Regions from separate parts of the Homo sapiens genome. Here all the other regions are linked to region 1. The links are contacts of gene promoters, found by promoter capture Hi-C in blood cells and fetal thymus (Javierre and others, 2016). All regions are on one chromosome and are shown on one strand. Each heading gives the region's core, a stretch centred on a gene start or on the middle of the fragment in contact. The rest is flanking DNA. Distances are from core to core; before and after follow the strand shown.

Region 1 (4,200 bases), core at 314-2,813:
TTTTTTAGCATTCCCTGTCCTAGTGAATGACACCACTAGTCATCCAGATGCCCAGTCCAGAGGTGTGATATCATCTCTGAGTCTTTCCCATTTTTCTCCCCATGCAACCTATCAACCAACAGTTGAAAACATTTCATCTCCTCATACCTTTCTATTCATCCCTCTTCTCTCCATCCACACTGGCATTATCCTCATCCAGATCATCATCTCTTATCTGATCTCCTTGATTCTCCAGTCACTCCCCCTGAAATTAATTCTCCATACTGCAGCCAAACTGATTTTTTAAAATGCAGATGTAATCATGTTAATCAGATATTTAAAACCCATCTTTGTACTTGAATTACCTTTAGGATAAATTCAAGAATGCATGATATGACCTGTATAATGATTCATGTTCTCACCATGCTTTTAACCCTAATTTCATTGTTAGACCCTCCCCTTCCATAGTTTTTAAAGTCCAAGGCATACTTCATTTCTCTGTGTTCCTCAAAATGCCCATCTGAAATATTCCTCCTTCTCCTGGCTAGTTCCTTCAGATCACAATGTATTTTTCATTACCTCAGGAAAGCTTTCACTGATGTCCCAAGTCCGACTTTGATCTTAATTATTTTATTTTTGACAGACACTTAACCAGCACTTACAAACCACTTTGTAAATATTAATTCATTAGATGCCTACGATAATAATCATAGGAGACAAATATTATTACCCCATTTTACAGGTGAGGAAACAAAGGTATCTATAACTTGCCCAAGCTTATAGATAGTAAGTCACATAACCAGGATTCTAATATTGATAATTTGGTTCCAGATCCCATATTCCCAAGCACTAAGGTATGCAGCCTCCTAGGTACAAGAAGTCTTTTCTAGGTATTTCTATATTACTTTTTATAAATGCATACATTATGACATACTTCGTTTACTTGTCTGCCAATTTTTCTAGCTTGTGAGCTCTGTAAGAGCAAGAATTATCTCTAACTTATTTGTGCCATGTCCTTCTTTATATTTTTAAAATATAAAAGTGAAAAAAGTAATGATATTACCAACTATAGCTGACAACAAGTATTTACAAGAGTGAAGGAGATAATATATTTGTAATTACTCGAGAAATGACTTAAATAAAAAATTATTTCTTCAGTTCAGAATATTTTAACAGATCCTTTAGTGCCGAGCATTCAAAACAGTGATAATGCAGTGTATGGACTTTTCTGGATTCAAATTCAAACAAACCAACAGCAAAGGACATTTTGGAGAGAACTGGGGAAAACCAAATGCAGTATAAATTACACCAAGGAATTATTGCTCAAGTTGTTGATTGTGAACGTTTTATTACAATTATCTTTTAGAAGGCCTTACCTATTAAAAATACTTAGTGAAGTATTTAAAGGAAAAAAAATGATGTCTGGGATTTGTTTCGAATGTTCCGGATGTATTTATGAATTACTTTTTCAAAGAGGAAAACTTTTTTAATGAAAAAAAAAACATGGAGACACATGGTGGCGCTACAGGATAAGACGAAAACAGTACATAGGCTGGCACGGTGAGCTTCGCTATTCAGGAGAACAGAAAGCATCCAACCCACTGAAAAGACAGGCATTAAAGGAGCTTCGCCTACAGAGCTGCTGGAGGATACACTCTCCAGGGGGTTCCTGTTAAAAACCAGAGCTTCAGCTTCCAAAATTACGGCTGAGCTTCAGTTTTTCCACAAGAGATTGCCTAAAGGAACCATGGAGATCAGAGGGGCACTCGATCTGCGAAAAAGGCAAGTTCTAATATTCCTTGTTTTGCTGGGATTGTCTCGGGCAGGTACTGAATCTGCACACTATTCTGTGGCAGAGGAAACAGAAATTGGCTCTTTTGTGGCTAATCTAGCGAGGGACCTAGGGCTGGGGGTGGAGGAGCTGTCTTCACGTGAAGCCCGGGTAGTGTCTGATGATAATAAAAAGTATTTGCACCTTGATTTGCTGACTGGGAATTTGCTCCTAAATGAGAAACTAGACCGAGACGAGCTGTGTGGCTCCACCGAGCCCTGTGTGCTGCATTTTCAGGTGGTTTTGGAAAACCCTTTACAGTTTTTTCGGTTTGAGCTGTGTGTCAAAGACATAAATGATCACTCCCCTACATTTCTAGACAAGGAAATACTTATTAAAATATCAGAAGGTACCACTGTTGGAGCTACCTTTCTAATGGAGAGTGCTCAAGATTTGGATGTCGGAAGCAACAGTCTCCAAAACTACACAATTAGCCCCAATTCTCACTTCTACATTAAAATTCCCGACAGTAGTGACAGAAAGATATACCCAGAGCTGGTCCTAGATAGAGCTTTAGATTATGAACAGGAAGCTGAACTCAGATTAACACTCACAGCAGTGGATGGTGGATCCCCGCCCAAGTCTGGGACAACTTTGGTTCTCATCAAGGTGTTGGACATCAATGATAATGCCCCTGAGTTTCCTCAGAGTCTCTATGAGGTGCAAGTCCCCGAGGACAGACCCCTTGGCTCCTGGATTGCCACCATCTCAGCTAAGGATCTGGATGCAGGAAACTATGGAAAAATATCTTACACATTTTTCCATGCATCAGAAGATATTCGTAAAACATTTGAAATTAATCCAATATCTGGGGAAGTTAATTTGAGATCACCCCTGGATTTTGAAGTAATACAGTCCTACACTATAAATATTCAGGCAACAGATGGTGGGGGTCTTTCAGGAAAATGCACCCTTCTAGTTAAAGTTATGGATATAAACGACAACCCACCAGAAGTGACCATATCGTCGATTACAAAGAGAATTCCAGAGAATGCCTCAGAGACCCTAGTAGCTCTTTTTAGTATCCTAGACCAAGACTCTGGAGACAATGGGAGGATGATTTGCTCTATTCAAGATAACCTCCCTTTTTTCCTGAAACCGACCTTCAAGAACTTTTTCACTCTAGTTTCTGAAAAAGCACTGGACAGAGAGAGCCAAGCCGAGTACAACATCACGATCACCGTCACAGACTTGGGGACACCCAGGCTGAAAACCGAGTACAACATAACCGTGCTGCTCTCTGACGTCAATGACAACGCCCCCACCTTCACCCAAACCTCCTACACCCTGTTCGTCCGCGAGAACAACAGCCCCGCCCTGCACATCGGCAGCGTCAGCGCCACAGACAGAGACTCAGGCACCAACGCCCAGGTCAACTACTCGCTGCTGCCGCCCCAGGACCGGCACCTGCCCCTCGCCTCCTTGGTCTCCATCAACGCGGACAATGGCCACCTGTTTGCCCTCAGGTCGCTGGACTACGAGGCCCTACAGGAGTTCGAGTTTCGCGTGGGCGCCACAGACCGCGGGTCCCCGGCGTTGAGCAGCGAGGCGCTGGTGCGCGTGCTGGTGCTGGACGCCAACGACAACTCGCCCTTCGTGCTGTACCCGCTGCAGAACGGCTCCGCGCCCTGCACCGAGCTGGTGCCCCGGGCGGCCGAGCCGGGCTACCTGGTGACCAAGGTGGTGGCGGTGGACGGCGACTCGGGCCAGAACGCCTGGCTGTCGTACCAGCTGCTCAAGGCCACGGAGCCCGGGCTGTTCGGCGTGTGGGCGCACAATGGCGAGGTGCGCACCGCCAGGCTGCTGAGCGAGCGCGACGCGGCCAAGCACAGGCTGGTGGTGCTGGTCAAGGACAATGGCGAGCCTCCTCGCTCGGCCACCGCCACGCTGCACGTGCTCCTGGTGGACGGCTTCTCCCAGCCCTACCTGCCGCTCCCTGAGGCGGCCCCGGCCCAGGCCCAGGCCGACTCCCTCACCGTCTACCTGGTGGTGGCATTGGCCTCGGTGTCGTCGCTCTTCCTCTTCTCGGTGCTCCTGTTCGTGGCGGTGCGGCTGTGCAGGAGGAGCAGGGCGGCCTCGGTGGGTCGCTGCTCGGTGCCCGAGGGTCCCTTTCCAGGGCATCTGGTGGACGTGAGCGGCACCGGGACCCTGTCCCAGAGCTACCAATACGAGGTGTGTCTGACAGGAGGTTCCGGGACAAATGAGTTCAAATTTCTGAAGCCGATTATCCCCAATTTTCAAGTTCATGACACTGGTAGGAATATGGGGGAAATCGAGAACTTTCGAAATAGCTTTGGACTTAACATTCAATAAAACAATTTATTTTAAATGTCTAATTTTTGGTTATTCTTGGCAAGCTGATGGTACTTTTTGCATAATCTTTTGTGGAT
Region 2 (4,237 bases), core at 1,074-3,573, 160 kb after region 1:
AATGTGGGAAAAAAAATAACCTTAATTTAGGTCAGTGTTAAAGATCAAGATCTTGGTTTTAGCTAGCATGGTGGTTCACGCCTGTAATCCCACCTCTTCAGGAGGCTGAGGCAGGAGGATCCCTTGAGACCAGGAGTTTGAGACCAGCCTGGGTGACTCTGTCTCTACCAAAAAGAAAAAAAAGTAGCCAGATGTGTGGCGTACACCTGTAGTCCCAGCTACTCGAGAAGCTCTGATAGGAGGATTGCTTAAGTCCAGGGGTATGAGGCTGCAGTGAGATATAATTGTGTCACTGCACCCTAGCCTGGGAGACAGAATGAGACTTTTTCTCTCTCTCTCTCAAAAAAAAAAAAAGATTTTGTTTTTTCTCAGTGTTACTTGATAACTATAAACGACAGACGTTCATACAAGAGATCTTTCACCTTTACTACTTAGGAATCAAAAATTATTTTTGAAAAGATAAGAATCATTGGTAACTGCAGCAGGGGACACCAGATCTTTGGTGTTAAAAGACCTGAATAACATTCCTGTAACTATCTGTTATTTACTTGGGCCAGTTACAATCGCCATTATCTTCCAATTAAAATTAAGATTTAAAAGACTTCTCTTATCAGAGATAGGATCCCCCTCTGTTGCCCAGTCTGGAGTAAAAATCCACCTGTAACTGCTGCTTATAGAGTGTGTATCCAGGGCAACTTGAATCTATGTTCCTGGGTTGCAATCCTAAAGCTTGGCTCAAATAAGCTCTACTTATATTATTTTTTAAAACAAGACTTTCCTTATCTATCTGACTCAAATTCTAAGAAAATAATTTTATAACTTTTTTTCAAACTCTAAAGCAGCATAGTGAACACGTATTTGTTGACATCACCATTATTATAATTATTGGGTTGTTAACAATAACTAAGCACCGATGCTGTGTGCCTACTACAGTGTCTTTTGCATACTGTGTGCCTGATAGTATTTAAGAGTGAAAATGGCCGGGTGCGGTGGCTCATGCCTGTAATCCCAACACTTTGGGAGGCCAAGGCAGGCATCTCACGAAGTCAGGAGTTCGAGACCAGCCTGACCAACATGGTGAAACCCCGTCTCTACTAAAAATACAAAAATTAGCCAGGTGGGGTGGCATGGGCCTGTAATCGCAGCTACTCGGGAGGCTGAGGCAGGAGAATCGCTTGAACCCATGAGGCAGAGGTTGCAGTGAGCCAAGATCGTGCCACTGCACTCCAGTCTGGGTGACAGAGCGAGACTCTGTCTCAAAAAATAATAATGATAATTAATAAATAAAGAGTGAACATGAATTTTAAAACATGCTCGGTAGTGTCTGCTTACAGGACATATCTCTAAAAATAGATGACTGACTGGTGAATGGGAGAACAAATGTTAATGAGGTTCAAATAAAAATTTAAATATTTTAGCATTTTAACCCAGACAATAAGGCTTTCATCATATAGGAACTCTTTATTGAAATATTTCAAGAAAAAAGGGATTATCATTTAGAAGACTGATTAGTCTTATTTATTATGACTGAAATGTGCAAACAGAATCATTGTTTCATGAACAGAAAACAGCAGAGTTTTTGACTGTCAATGATGTTCGAATAGAAAATGGATCACTAAGGAGATAGGAGATTCTGTTATCGACAGTCTTCAAAAGTAAGTTGATGGCCCTGGAATGAATGGAGTACAGGGGATTCTCTAATTTGATGACTTGTTGAACTACATTATAGTCAAGATTTTTCTCCAGTCATGAGTTGGAAGATTCTACAATCTGGTGGTATTATAGAATGGATTGGCCACTTGTGCATCTGAATTTGTTATGAATGTGTAAGAAAAAAGCAATTGAGAAGATACCTTGAAAATAAATGAGAACCTCCTTTGTAACCTGACTTTGTCAGTCTTCTTAAAGATAACATTGAGTTGATGTGTTTTTAAATAAGCTGCTAAGAGTAATATGTGTTTTTCTGAACCAATATTGTGGTATTTACATTTAAGGAATTGTTATAGATTTATTTATTTCAAGTTTCCAAAGGTATATACCTAAACAAGAGATCTAATCATACACATCTTCAAAGCTCATTTTCTTGTATCTTTGTGATATAATTTGATAAAATAACAATTTTAAACAACTTGAATCTTGGATATTAGTCTCATGAGTTAGATGGGCTGTTATACATATGATTATTTCATAAACTCTGAAAGTGTGAATGTTATTTTACTATACTACCAATTTGGGATGTTAAACTACATCTTGAGCATTTGTTGTTATAGGGAAAGCTCACTAACTACTTTTCATGGAGATCAGGCTGGTTTATTTTATTCTCTTATTACCTGTGACCATTTCATTTAAACAAATAAAATATTTCTCTGATGGAAAAACTACCAACTTCTACTCTCACAAAAGTCATTCACTCATGTGGACTGACCAACTGTTAAACATCCTGGCAGTCATGGAATTTGCTAAGTTATGGCTAAATGAGGTTCTTTAATCCACCTGCAATACAGATCATTAATAATAAGATAGGCTATCTGAGGTTTTGAGAGTTCAGTATAGAATTTTGAAGCATCAGGAAAAAAAACTACCAAATTATTGTCTTATTCTTATTTTATGGTCTGTGAAAGCCTCTTTTTTTTTTTTTTTTTTTTTTTTTTTTTTGTCAGAGTCTTGCTCTGTCTCCCAGGCTGGAATGCAGTGGTGTGATCTCTGCTCACTGCAACTTCCTCCTCCTGGGTTCAAGCGATTCTCCTGCCTCAGCCTCCCAAGTAGCTGGGATTACAGGTGCATGCCACCATGCCTAGCTAATTTTCATACTTTTAGTAGAGATGGGGTTTTACCATGATGGCCAGGCTGGTCTCAAACTCCTGACCTTAAGTGATCCACCCGCCTCAGCCTCTCAAAGGGCTGGGATTACAGGCATGAGCCACTGAGCCCGGCCTGAAAGGCATTCATTTCTGATCAGGCTTCTGTTGAGGTGGCAATTGTCAAAGGGGAAGGAGTAAAATCTCAGAGGAGAAACATTGGAAGATACCTATATCTTTGCTTGAGAATGAAAATCTAAATGGAACTTCAAAGAACTGTTTTGTTGTTTGTTTTTTAGAAAAAAAAGTCCCAAAAAAGAAAAGAGAGAAGATAATCAATTCGATGCCCAGGAAGCCAAATAGACTTTACATAGAATTCTTTTTAATGCAACCAAACAAATGGTCAGGATTCTTCCCAATATCTCAGTCAACAATAATATACACTCTTTAAACTATGAAATGATTTCAATTTGATACAATGAGCTTATGTTAGATTTTATTAAACATATCTTGGCGGTCTAGTAAAGATCTTTAATATTTAATTTTATGATGTTCGATAACTTAGAAAATGTGAATGCTAGAGACAATGAAGCCATTTACTCCATAGGGTATGTATGCTTTGTGTTCGGAGTAGTCTATAATTTAATTTAACTAGCTCTTATTTCCTTTTCTCCAAAGAAGGTACCAAGACACTATAAATTAATTGAGACTTTTTTAAAACAGTAGAATAAGAAACAAATGTGAGATGAAACTATGAATTTTGAGGCATCAGGTAAAAATGGATCAAGACATTGAGAGCTATAACCTCCAAACATGAAAGTTTGTTTGAAAATATCTACAAGTGCTTACATTGTTTAATAATCATACACTTTGCTTGCCTCAACAAGAAGTTCAAAAGTACTATTAAACAAATAGAATTTAACTCCAGTTTACAGAATTCATCTATAATACCTCTATTAGTTCCTTTAAACAAAATTTATCTACTTTGTGAATGCAAAGATAACTATGGATTATTTTGATAGATCAAAACAGAATGTCCTTCAAAGTGTTCCCTGTATTCTGGAGCAATGCCACCAGAAAGCAGAAATAGGTTACTTAGGAGCCTCCCACAAAACGAAGTTAAGCTTTCTTAGTGTTAGTTCTGGATTCTCCTCCTGGTTCCACCAACTACTCTCCAGGACCTAGAAGAATTTACAAACCAAGACTGTTTCTTGCCAGGTCTTTATTCCAGAGCAGGTCATTCTCTTTTATTCTGCAACTATGTGAAAGGAGCTTTCTTTTCTTTCTGCTAGCAGAGGGTAGCCTCGGATCCATCAATAATTTAGTTTTACTCTATCAACATCAGTGGAGAGACGAGTACCTCTAAGGATCCTGTCAGGACAGTCCTGCATTTTGCTCAAATGCTGTCTAGAGATCCCTGTTTTCTCAATTACACTAGA
Region 3 (4,334 bases), core at 21-2,520, 220 kb after region 1:
AAATTATTGTTCCACTGAAGAGCGTCTTATGACTGAGTGTTCCAGTCTCCTTCTCAAGCTGAACCTTGCTTTTCAAACCAGATTAAGAACACTATCATAAGTTATACTGCATTTTATTTCCCTACCCATGTCCACTGCATCATTCTCTATAGTACAAAGAGCTTGTCTCGCCAGGCGCATCTATAATCTTAGCACTTTGGGGCGCCAAGGCGGGTGGATCACTTGAGCCCAGGAGTTTGAGACCAGCCTGGACAGCATGGCAAAAACCCATCTCTACAAAAAAAAAAAACAAAAATTAACAAGGTTTAGTGGTCCATGCCTGTGGTCTCAGCTACTTGGGAGGCTGAGGTGTGAGGATCACCTGAGTCTGGGGAGATTGAAGCTGCAGTGAGCTGTGGTTGCGCTCCTGTACTCCAGTCTGGGTGACAGAATTAGACCCTGTCCCAAAACAAACAAACAAATAAAGAGCTTCTCTCCTTATGACTTATTTAAAGCTTGGGAAATTGTTCCAATTCAAATGCTTTAAATGGACTTGAGCTAAAACAGAATGTGGTATATGAAATGTTCTTATAATCAGGTGATTGTAAAAATTGATCCAGATAATGTTAGCATAGCATTTTACTGAACTAGTAGTTTACAAACACTTCAAAAATTATAGAATAACATTTGCATATAAAATTCCTCATACATTTCCCTATCAGTGAATTGGAAGCTTACAATATACAATATTACCAAAAAGACAAAAAAAATGAAAAGGAAACAGTTACCTTTGGAAAACATAATTAGGTAAAATGGGTAATATGGAAAGTCTGAAAACTGAAAAAATTACTGATAAGTCAAGAGAAAAGGAATATTAGTAGGAAAATTCATAAAAGTGTGTCTGACTACTCACAGCAGGTTTCCTTATTGGTATGTATTCTGTGGTCCATCTAAGCTATGTTAATTTTATTTTAAATGCTACCTGGGTATTGGCTTCTAAAAGGAATTCAGTAAATCAGATAATTTGGCATCTTCAATCTAGATTCTGATGCTCACCTGAAAAGTCTGCTAAGGATTGGAAACCAAGAAAAGTGAAGTATCTCAACAGATATGTGTCACTTGTGTGTACTGGATTTTTTTTTTTTTTTTTTTTTTTTTTTTTTTTTTTTGAGATGGAGTTTCACTCTTGTTGCCCAGGCTGGAGTGCAATGGCATGCTCTCGGCTCACTGCAACCTCCGCCTCCCAGGTTCAAGTGATTCTCCTGCCTCAGCCTCCCTAGTAGCTAGGATTACAGGCATGTGCCACCACGCCCAGCTAATTTTGTATTTTTAGTAGAGACGGGGTTTCTCCATGTTGGTCAGGCTAGTCTTGAACTCCCAACCTCAGGTGATCTTCCCTCCTTGGCCTCCCAAAGTGCTGGGATTACAGGCATGAGTCACTGCGCCCGGTCGCGTACTGGATTTATATTGTGTAATACTTTGCTCTAGCAGTATAGTAGGTGAGACAGTGACTGTGTCTAGTGAGCAAAAGGCACTTATTTGACACTTTTGACTCTTCCTTTCTACTTACCTTATTTAAAATTGATTTTTGCATGTGGCATGATGCACCAGTTCATTGAGGTAGGGGTTGAAGTTATTTCCCATTTTTTTCAATACCATTTATTAAAAATATTTTCCTCTTTCTGTTGAATTTGCTTGGTGCCTTTGTTGAAAGTCATTTCACTGATATATGTAGTTCTATTTCTATATTCTTGATCATGTTTCATTTGTCTATTCTTTTACTAATAGCACACTGTCTCAATTATTGTAGCTTTATAGTAAGTCTTGCTACAAAGTCTTACTACAGGACAAAGCTTGTAGGATTTTTGAATGGGATGGCATTGCATCTATACCTTTATCAGGGAAAGAGGGAAGGAGGGAGGAGGATCATCTTAACAATATTGACACTTCAAATCCATGAACATGGTATATATTTCCATTTAATTAGGTCTTTAATTTCTCTCAGCTATGTTGTATAGTTTTCAGTGTAGAGAGGTCATGTATATTTCTCATTAAATTGTCCCTACATATTTGATGTTTTCTAATGTTATTGTAAATAGTATTTTTAAAATTGTATCTTCTAATTGTTCATTTCTAGTTTACAGAAAAATGAAAAACTATGTTTTTATGTATTCTATATGCTTTTGAAAAGTAAGAGGTGCAAAGTGCTCTATTCTTACACTATATTGTGTGAGAATATAAGTCGAAACCACTCTGCATAAGTTCAGGCTTCCATTCTCTTCAGTTTGTAGGTTGAGAGAACCCATCCAGAAACAGTAAACATTGGTGTCTGCCCAAGTCTGGTCCTGGGTGGTTCATTCATTCATTTACATAACAAATATTTATTAACTGTCTGCTATATGCAAGGCACTGACCTATGGACTAAGGATGCAGCAATGAACAAGGCATATATGATTCCTGAGTTAATGGGCCCTATTCTAATACATGATATTTTACAGGTCTGATAAAAGCCAACAAGGAGAAATACAAAAGCACTAAGAGAAAGCTTATAGTAGGGAAGCTTCGCCTAATCTGAAGGTCAAGGAAGGCTTTCTTTTTTTCGGAAAGTGATATTTAGAGAGATGAATAGATTAATAGGATGAGTAGAAGTTATCTAGGTAACAAGGAAAGTAAAAAAGAAATTGTCAGGCAGAGGAAATAGCATGTGTAAAGATCTTTTTAAAAAATAAAAGGTGTGACTCAAGCAATTTAAAAGGGCTAGGGAGGCTAGAAACAGAAAATAAATAGATGAAACTAATAAGGCAGGGAGAGCCTTGTAAATCACACTTAAAATTCTGGATTTTGTTCTAAATACCCTTGTACTTAGGAGCTATTAAAATATTTTAAACAAGGCAGTGACAAGATATTTGAATTATTAAGCTTACTCTGGCTGCTATATGGAGAATTGATTTATGAGGGTTATAAATAGAAATAGGAAGATAAGATAGGAGACTATGGCAATATTCCTGGTAAGAAATGGAAGAAGAGCTGGCTTGGATTAAAGGGGAGGCAGTGGATGTAGAAATAAATGGATGAATTATAGATATATTTAGGAAATGGGTTCAATAAGACTTAATAATGGAATAGGTGGAATATAAATTTCATGAGGGCAGGGGGTGTTTTGTTTATTATTATATTCCTAGGTGTCTGAAAATATTGTTGTGTTGCCTGGCAAGTGGTAGATCTTCAGTGAAATATTATTAACTGAATAAATACAATGGATAAATGGGGAGCAGGGATTAAGAGTGATTCCTGGGTTTCCACATTAAGGAACTGGATGGACAAAGCTACCATTTGATGAGAATGGAAGACTAAAGAATGATAGATTTAAGAGAAATCGAGTTGAGTTCCAGCCATGTTCATTTGAAGGATCTGAGAAACAGTGCAGATATTCAGTGTGTGATTAGACATATGGTCATCATTCTTTTTTTTTTTTGAGATGGAGTCTCGCTCTGTCACCCAGGCTGGAGTGCAGTGGCCCTATCTCTGCTCACTGCAATCTCTGCCTCCCAGGTTCAAGTGATTCTTCTGCCTCAGCCTCCTGAGTAGCTGGGACTACAGGCGTGCACCACCACGCCTGGCTAATTTTTGTATTTTTAGTACAAGACAGCATTTCACCATATTGGCCAGGCTGGTCTCGAACTCTGATCTGCCCGCCTCGGCCTCCCAAAGTGTGGGGATTACAGGCGTGAGCCACCGCGCCCAGCCGGTTACCATTCTTTTACTCTGAGTTCTTCCATTGTGATCATCTAGTCAGATGGGTAGATCCTTATAAGGCTGAGCATAATAAGCTTCCTGATAGCTCTACACTGGTATGTTTTGGGGTTCATGGCTGAGCTACTTTTGTGTTTTATTTATCTTCCTGATCTCTTTTTCACTGTAAGAAACATCCAGCACCCAGGGAAATTTGCTGTCTAATTCATACTCCACTCTTCAGACTAGTCCTAGTGTTCAGTTTTGTTTTGTTTTTTTTCTGTGTCTGGAATTCTATTAAAATGTGTCAGGCTGTTTTAATTTTTGTTGTTTAATTTTCTTTCACATGATTATATGTGCTCCATGGATTTTTTTGTTTGTTTGTTTTTTGTTTTTGTTTTTGTTTAAGCGGGGTCTTGCTCTTGTCGCGCAGGCTGGAGTGCAATGGCTTGATCTCGGCTCACTGCAACCTCCGCCTCCCGGGTTCAAGTGATTCTTCTGTCTCAGCCTCCCAAGTAGCTGGGACTACAGGCACATGCCACCACACCCGGCTAATTTTTGTATTTTTAGTAGAGACGGGTTTCATCATATTGGTCAGGCTGGTCTCAAACTCCTGACCCTGG
Region 4 (4,348 bases), core at 62-2,561, 130 kb before region 1:
GTGATTCTGTTTTACTAAGCATGTACCATTCAGGATACTGAACTGCAGAATTCTGTTCCAGAGGTGCTGGAGAGTGGTTCCTTCATTGCTAATTTTGCAGAGATTTTGGGCCTTAGGATGGGGAACTTGAGAGGTATGGGGAGCGAGAGGGTAATTCATGTTTCTATAGATTTAAAAAACTGCATTTTCAAATCAAAAGACTCAGGAGTGGGTACTAAATAGAAATTGGATCCATCTGTGAGTCTCAAAGCACCTTGGAAAAATGTAACTCATTTGAGTTACTCATTTGCCTTGAGAAAGGTAACTTGGAAAAATGAGTTACATTTTTACAAGGTGCCTTGGACTCACAGATATAGCCATTCACTAGTGTGTATTACTGGATCTAGGAATGCTGCAAAAAATCAAGGAGAGCATCTTGTAGAGACCATATAGATGGCAGAACATGTAGACAGAGCAGTATTCATAAGTATATTTTGAATCCTAATTCCCATGTCTTCTCTTCTGTTTGCTTAGAGAATGGTGGCAGAAAATATCCTGAATGAGGATGGGCAATTTTCTCAGTGGAAAGAAATGGGTTGAGGTTAATTTAACTATCATGATATTGGATGGTGGGTCCCCACATAGATCCAAATCTGCATTGGTCTTCACCAAAGTTGTGGGTTATCAGTGATTTTACTCAGCTGTAATATATAGTAGTTCAGTACAGTAATCCCAGAAAAAAAGTTTTTCCTCCCTGGCTATCACTTTTCTATCAGGAATTTGGATACAAGGTATAATATAAAACTATCTTTAAGGTTTTACCGGGCTACTGAAGACTTAATGAAAACTTTAATAAAGCATTTACATTGGTATAAAAGTACCAAAAGCAAACCCATCACTCAAACCCGTAAATTCCAAGGCTATACTAATCTACAGTGTGGATTCTGAGATCATCAATAATTAAAGACTCTAGAAAATGTAACTTCTTGCTGTAAAAGACAGTCCACTCCTAATCATCATGTCATCATTTATGAACTAGGTCCCAAGGAGCCATATCTGCTTTAAGACCATATCTGCTGTTTCCTGTGTTTCAGATCCAGATCACAGAAAAAAAAATAGATATTTGGGCTTCATAATACCACCTTCCCTTCACCCTAAAGCCTTCAATAGAGGTAGATTAAAGACAAGTACAATTCTATGATTACTGCCAGAGATCTGGAGTTACTGTAAGCTGAAAGGAAACAATATAACCAGGTCTTCATTTTCACCAAACTGCCTCTGCACTTATCAAGTATGAAAACACAGCCCTAGAGTGTGCATTTTAGCAGCACACTGCCATAAACAGAGACTTAGAAAAACACCCAAGTAACTTATTTGCTTCTGGTTTCCCAGGATGTGCAGTACTCCATGACAGTGGACACAAAGAATCTGTTTGTAAGGCCCATAAGAGTCAAGTTCTGTATGAGAGAAACAGACACTACTACTACCATGAGCTAGCAGCATGGTGTTGGTGTGGTTGGTAATATTTGATGGCAATGGCAATTCTCCTTTGTGTTATATTTAATGCAGAACGGATTATGTGATGTTCAAGGTGGTGGCAGTAGAAGGAGACTAGGTCTGGAAGGTCTTCATGTCCTATCAGTTACTCAAAGACTTGAGTCTCCATCTGTATAGCGTGTTAGCCCAACACTGGGAAGTGTGCACACTAGGTTTGTGAGTGATGGTAATCTAGCCAATCATAGACTTCAGGTTATGGTCAAGGACACTGAGATGCCACCTATGTATTCCAGATTCAGACAACAACTGCTGCTGGTCAGCTGTTTCTTTCAGCTCTACTGGCTACATCTTGACAGACCTCAGGAATATGGGGTCTGTCACTTAGATTCCTCACTTAGCATATACTATGGTTTTAGTATTCCTTTGTTTTCTTGTTGGCCTGCTTCTTTACACAGTAGATGTTCAAATAATTACTGTGATATGAAAATATGTTATAATTTTCAAGTATTTCCTTATATTTCTTTAGCATATCTAAATTGATTATTTATGCTTTGTATTTTGTAGTCAGAGTTTCAGGTTTCTTCCCCTCACCCCGTATTCTTTGCCCTCTCTACACCTTTGGATTTCTTCATTATTTACTAATTTTCGATATTGTATTTAGCCATATTATTTTCTTTTCTTTTTTTTTTTTTTTGAGATGGAGTCTCGCTCTGTTGCCCAGGCTGGAGTGCAGTGGCGCCATCTCAGCTCACTGCAAGCTCTGCCTCCCGGGTTCACGCCATTCTCCTGCCTCAGCCTCCCGAGTAGCTGGGACTCCAGGCGCCTGCCACCATGCCCAGCTAATTTTTTGTATTTTTAGTAGAGACAGGGTTTCACCGTGTTAGCTAGGATGGTCTCGATCTCCTGACCTCGTGATCCACCTGCCTTGGCCTCCCAAAGTGCTGGGATTACAGGCATAAGCCACAGCACCCAGTCCATATTTTCTTTTAAAGTAAAATTTCAATAGTGATCTTAGTGAAAATTCAATCATCTACCAGATTACCTAAACCTGATTTAAGTTTTAACCTATTTTAATCATAAAAAAAAGTCTGAGATTTTTGGAAGAGGTCATACCTCTGTCTCTCTCATCTCTATTTCCATCTATATCTGTCTATCTAGCTTTATCTGCAGTCCTGGTCAAGATTTTTATTTTCAAGGGGACAGATTGTCCTAATAGACTCTGATGGTTCTCCTTAAACAAAATTGGGCAAGATTCTTGTGCAGGTATCATTTTAAAAACCTTTTCTTGCTTATTTGTACTGTGGGAAGAGAATAAACAACACCATTTCCCCTTTTTGAGTTATATTTATTTCTTGTTTCATTTGCTTGTTTGTTTGTTGTTGTTGTTGTTGTTTGAGACAGGGTGTCGCTCTGTCTCCCAAGCTGGAGTGCAGTGGTGTGATCTCGGCTTACTGCAACCTCTGCCTCCAGGGCACAAGTGACGCTAACACCCCAGCCCCCTATGTAGCTGGGACTATGGGCGTGAGCCACCACACCTGGCTGATTTTTTTTTTTTTTTTTTGGTAGACATGGGGCTTTGCCACATTGCAGGCTGGTCTTCAAAACTCCTGGACTCAAGCAATCCACCCATCTTGGACTCCCAAAGTGCTGGGATTACAGGTGTGAGCCACCACGTGTAGCCGACCTTTATTTTGAAATCTTGTTTGCTTGAGCTTCATGAAATGTATGTCTTGATAGATTATGGGGAAACTTATTTGTATCCTCAATAAGGTAAAAGTAAATTAGTTGAATATGCCCCCAATTTTCACACTAGATTAGGGTAATAAACTATGCCAGAACACTCCCTTCTTGTCCTAGAATATTTCTCTTATATTTTCTGCAGAATCTTAGTGTTAGATCACTGAAAACCCCTCCTTCTTCTGCCATCTTATGGCTGAGTAAGTAAAGCCAGCTTGTGGGCAGAAGGCATTGAAAGGCTGAAGATCCCTCTCTATTGAAAGAGGGATACTAGTGGGGATAATATCTCCATATCATTTGGCATTATCTTTGATAGGAAAATGGTCATGTAAATCCCTTTGACTACCCTTTCTCCTAATTCTTGTAATTTTCATCTCATGGCAGTCAAAAGATCAAATCACCCTTTAGTCCAAAAAAGAGAGAGGCAAGCTTAATTATGACAGATACTCAAACAATGTGTTCTTATTTAGTTTTTGAATGGCTGTACTTTTGTAATAAGACTGTAATGACTTGCTTTCATTTTTGGTATGTTTTTGAAAATATTTTTCTATTCCTGTATATGAAATTATTTGTGTAACATTTTAATATGTTAGATTTTATTAAATGAATCTTCAAAATTATGAAAGTGACTCCTAGGATAATGTCTCTGCTTGTGCAGCATATGAAAAGTAAAGCGAAACCTAAGAAATTAAACCTACTGTAATAACATAATTTTTAAATTATGCAATAGATTCCCCTCATTATAATATAAATAATTACTATATGTAAACATATTTCATTCAGACTTATAAATATGCTATAAATTATAATCTAATATATATGATTCCTTATTAAAGGAGATTAAGAAAATAAGAGCATTTGTAAAGAAGGAAGGTGTATTCTCATCAAGGTTTAAGAAAATAAATGATTTAAAATAGCATAGCGGATATAATGCATTTAAAGCTGGAAACCTATATACGAATATAAAATATTGGTGTTGGTTATATAATCTTTGAAAAAGAGAAACTTACTTCTATTTCTAGGTGTGTTAATAGCATTGAAATGAAAGATGGGTAAAACCTTCTGAATTGTGAGGACACATGACAACATGAGAGGTTTTAAAATTTTTTTCACAATAAAACCTAATGTGTTCTTG

Evidence for each region. Contacts are between HindIII fragments. The CHiCAGO score rates a contact against its expected background, and 5 or more counts as called.
Region 2: a fragment that was not itself captured here is called in contact with the fragment with the promoter of PCDHB14 in region 1 in 5 of 17 cell types (M1 macrophages, M2 macrophages, endothelial precursors and 2 more); the score reaches 8.6 in M1 macrophages.
Region 3: a fragment that was not itself captured here is called in contact with the fragment with the promoter of PCDHB14 in region 1 in 1 of 17 cell types (erythroblasts); the score reaches 5.1 in erythroblasts.
Region 4: a fragment that was not itself captured here is called in contact with the fragment with the promoter of PCDHB14 in region 1 in 1 of 17 cell types (M1 macrophages); the score reaches 5.0 in M1 macrophages.

The regions. Positions count from the first base shown.
Region 1 is chr5:141,221,780-141,225,979 of GRCh38, forward strand. PCDHB14 (protocadherin beta 14) reads left to right here and starts at 1,564. Exons shown (of 1, transcript NM_018934.4): 1 at 1,564-4,200. The coding sequence starts at 1,727. The coding sequence ends at 4,123. It also overlaps PCDHB@. The HindIII fragment of the contact is 16,360 bases long and covers 754-4,200 here.
Region 2 is chr5:141,377,265-141,381,501 of GRCh38, forward strand. All of the region lies in intron 1 of PCDHGA1 (protocadherin gamma subfamily A, 1), which reads left to right. All of the region lies in intron 1 of PCDHGA2 (protocadherin gamma subfamily A, 2), which reads left to right. All of the region lies in intron 1 of PCDHGA3 (protocadherin gamma subfamily A, 3), which reads left to right. All of the region lies in intron 1 of PCDHGB1 (protocadherin gamma subfamily B, 1), which reads left to right. It also overlaps PCDHGA4, PCDHGB2, PCDHGA5, PCDHGB3, PCDHGA6 and PCDHG@. Among named protein-coding and RNA genes, the nearest start is that of PCDHGA7, 3.4 kb to the right of the region's middle. The HindIII fragment of the contact is 3,193 bases long and covers 728-3,920 here.
Region 3 is chr5:141,443,041-141,447,374 of GRCh38, forward strand. The region is part of intron 1 of PCDHGA1 (protocadherin gamma subfamily A, 1); the gene reads left to right. All of the region lies in intron 1 of PCDHGA2 (protocadherin gamma subfamily A, 2), which reads left to right. All of the region lies in intron 1 of PCDHGA3 (protocadherin gamma subfamily A, 3), which reads left to right. The region is part of intron 1 of PCDHGB1 (protocadherin gamma subfamily B, 1); the gene reads left to right. It also overlaps PCDHGA4, PCDHGB2, PCDHGA5, PCDHGB3, PCDHGA6 and PCDHGA7, and 10 more genes. Among named protein-coding and RNA genes, the nearest start is that of PCDHGA12, 15 kb to the left of the region's middle. The HindIII fragment of the contact is 1,120 bases long and covers 711-1,830 here.
Region 4 is chr5:141,087,418-141,091,765 of GRCh38, forward strand. It overlaps PCDHB@. Among named protein-coding and RNA genes, the nearest start is that of PCDHB2, 5.0 kb to the right of the region's middle. The HindIII fragment of the contact is 4,657 bases long and covers 1-3,640 here.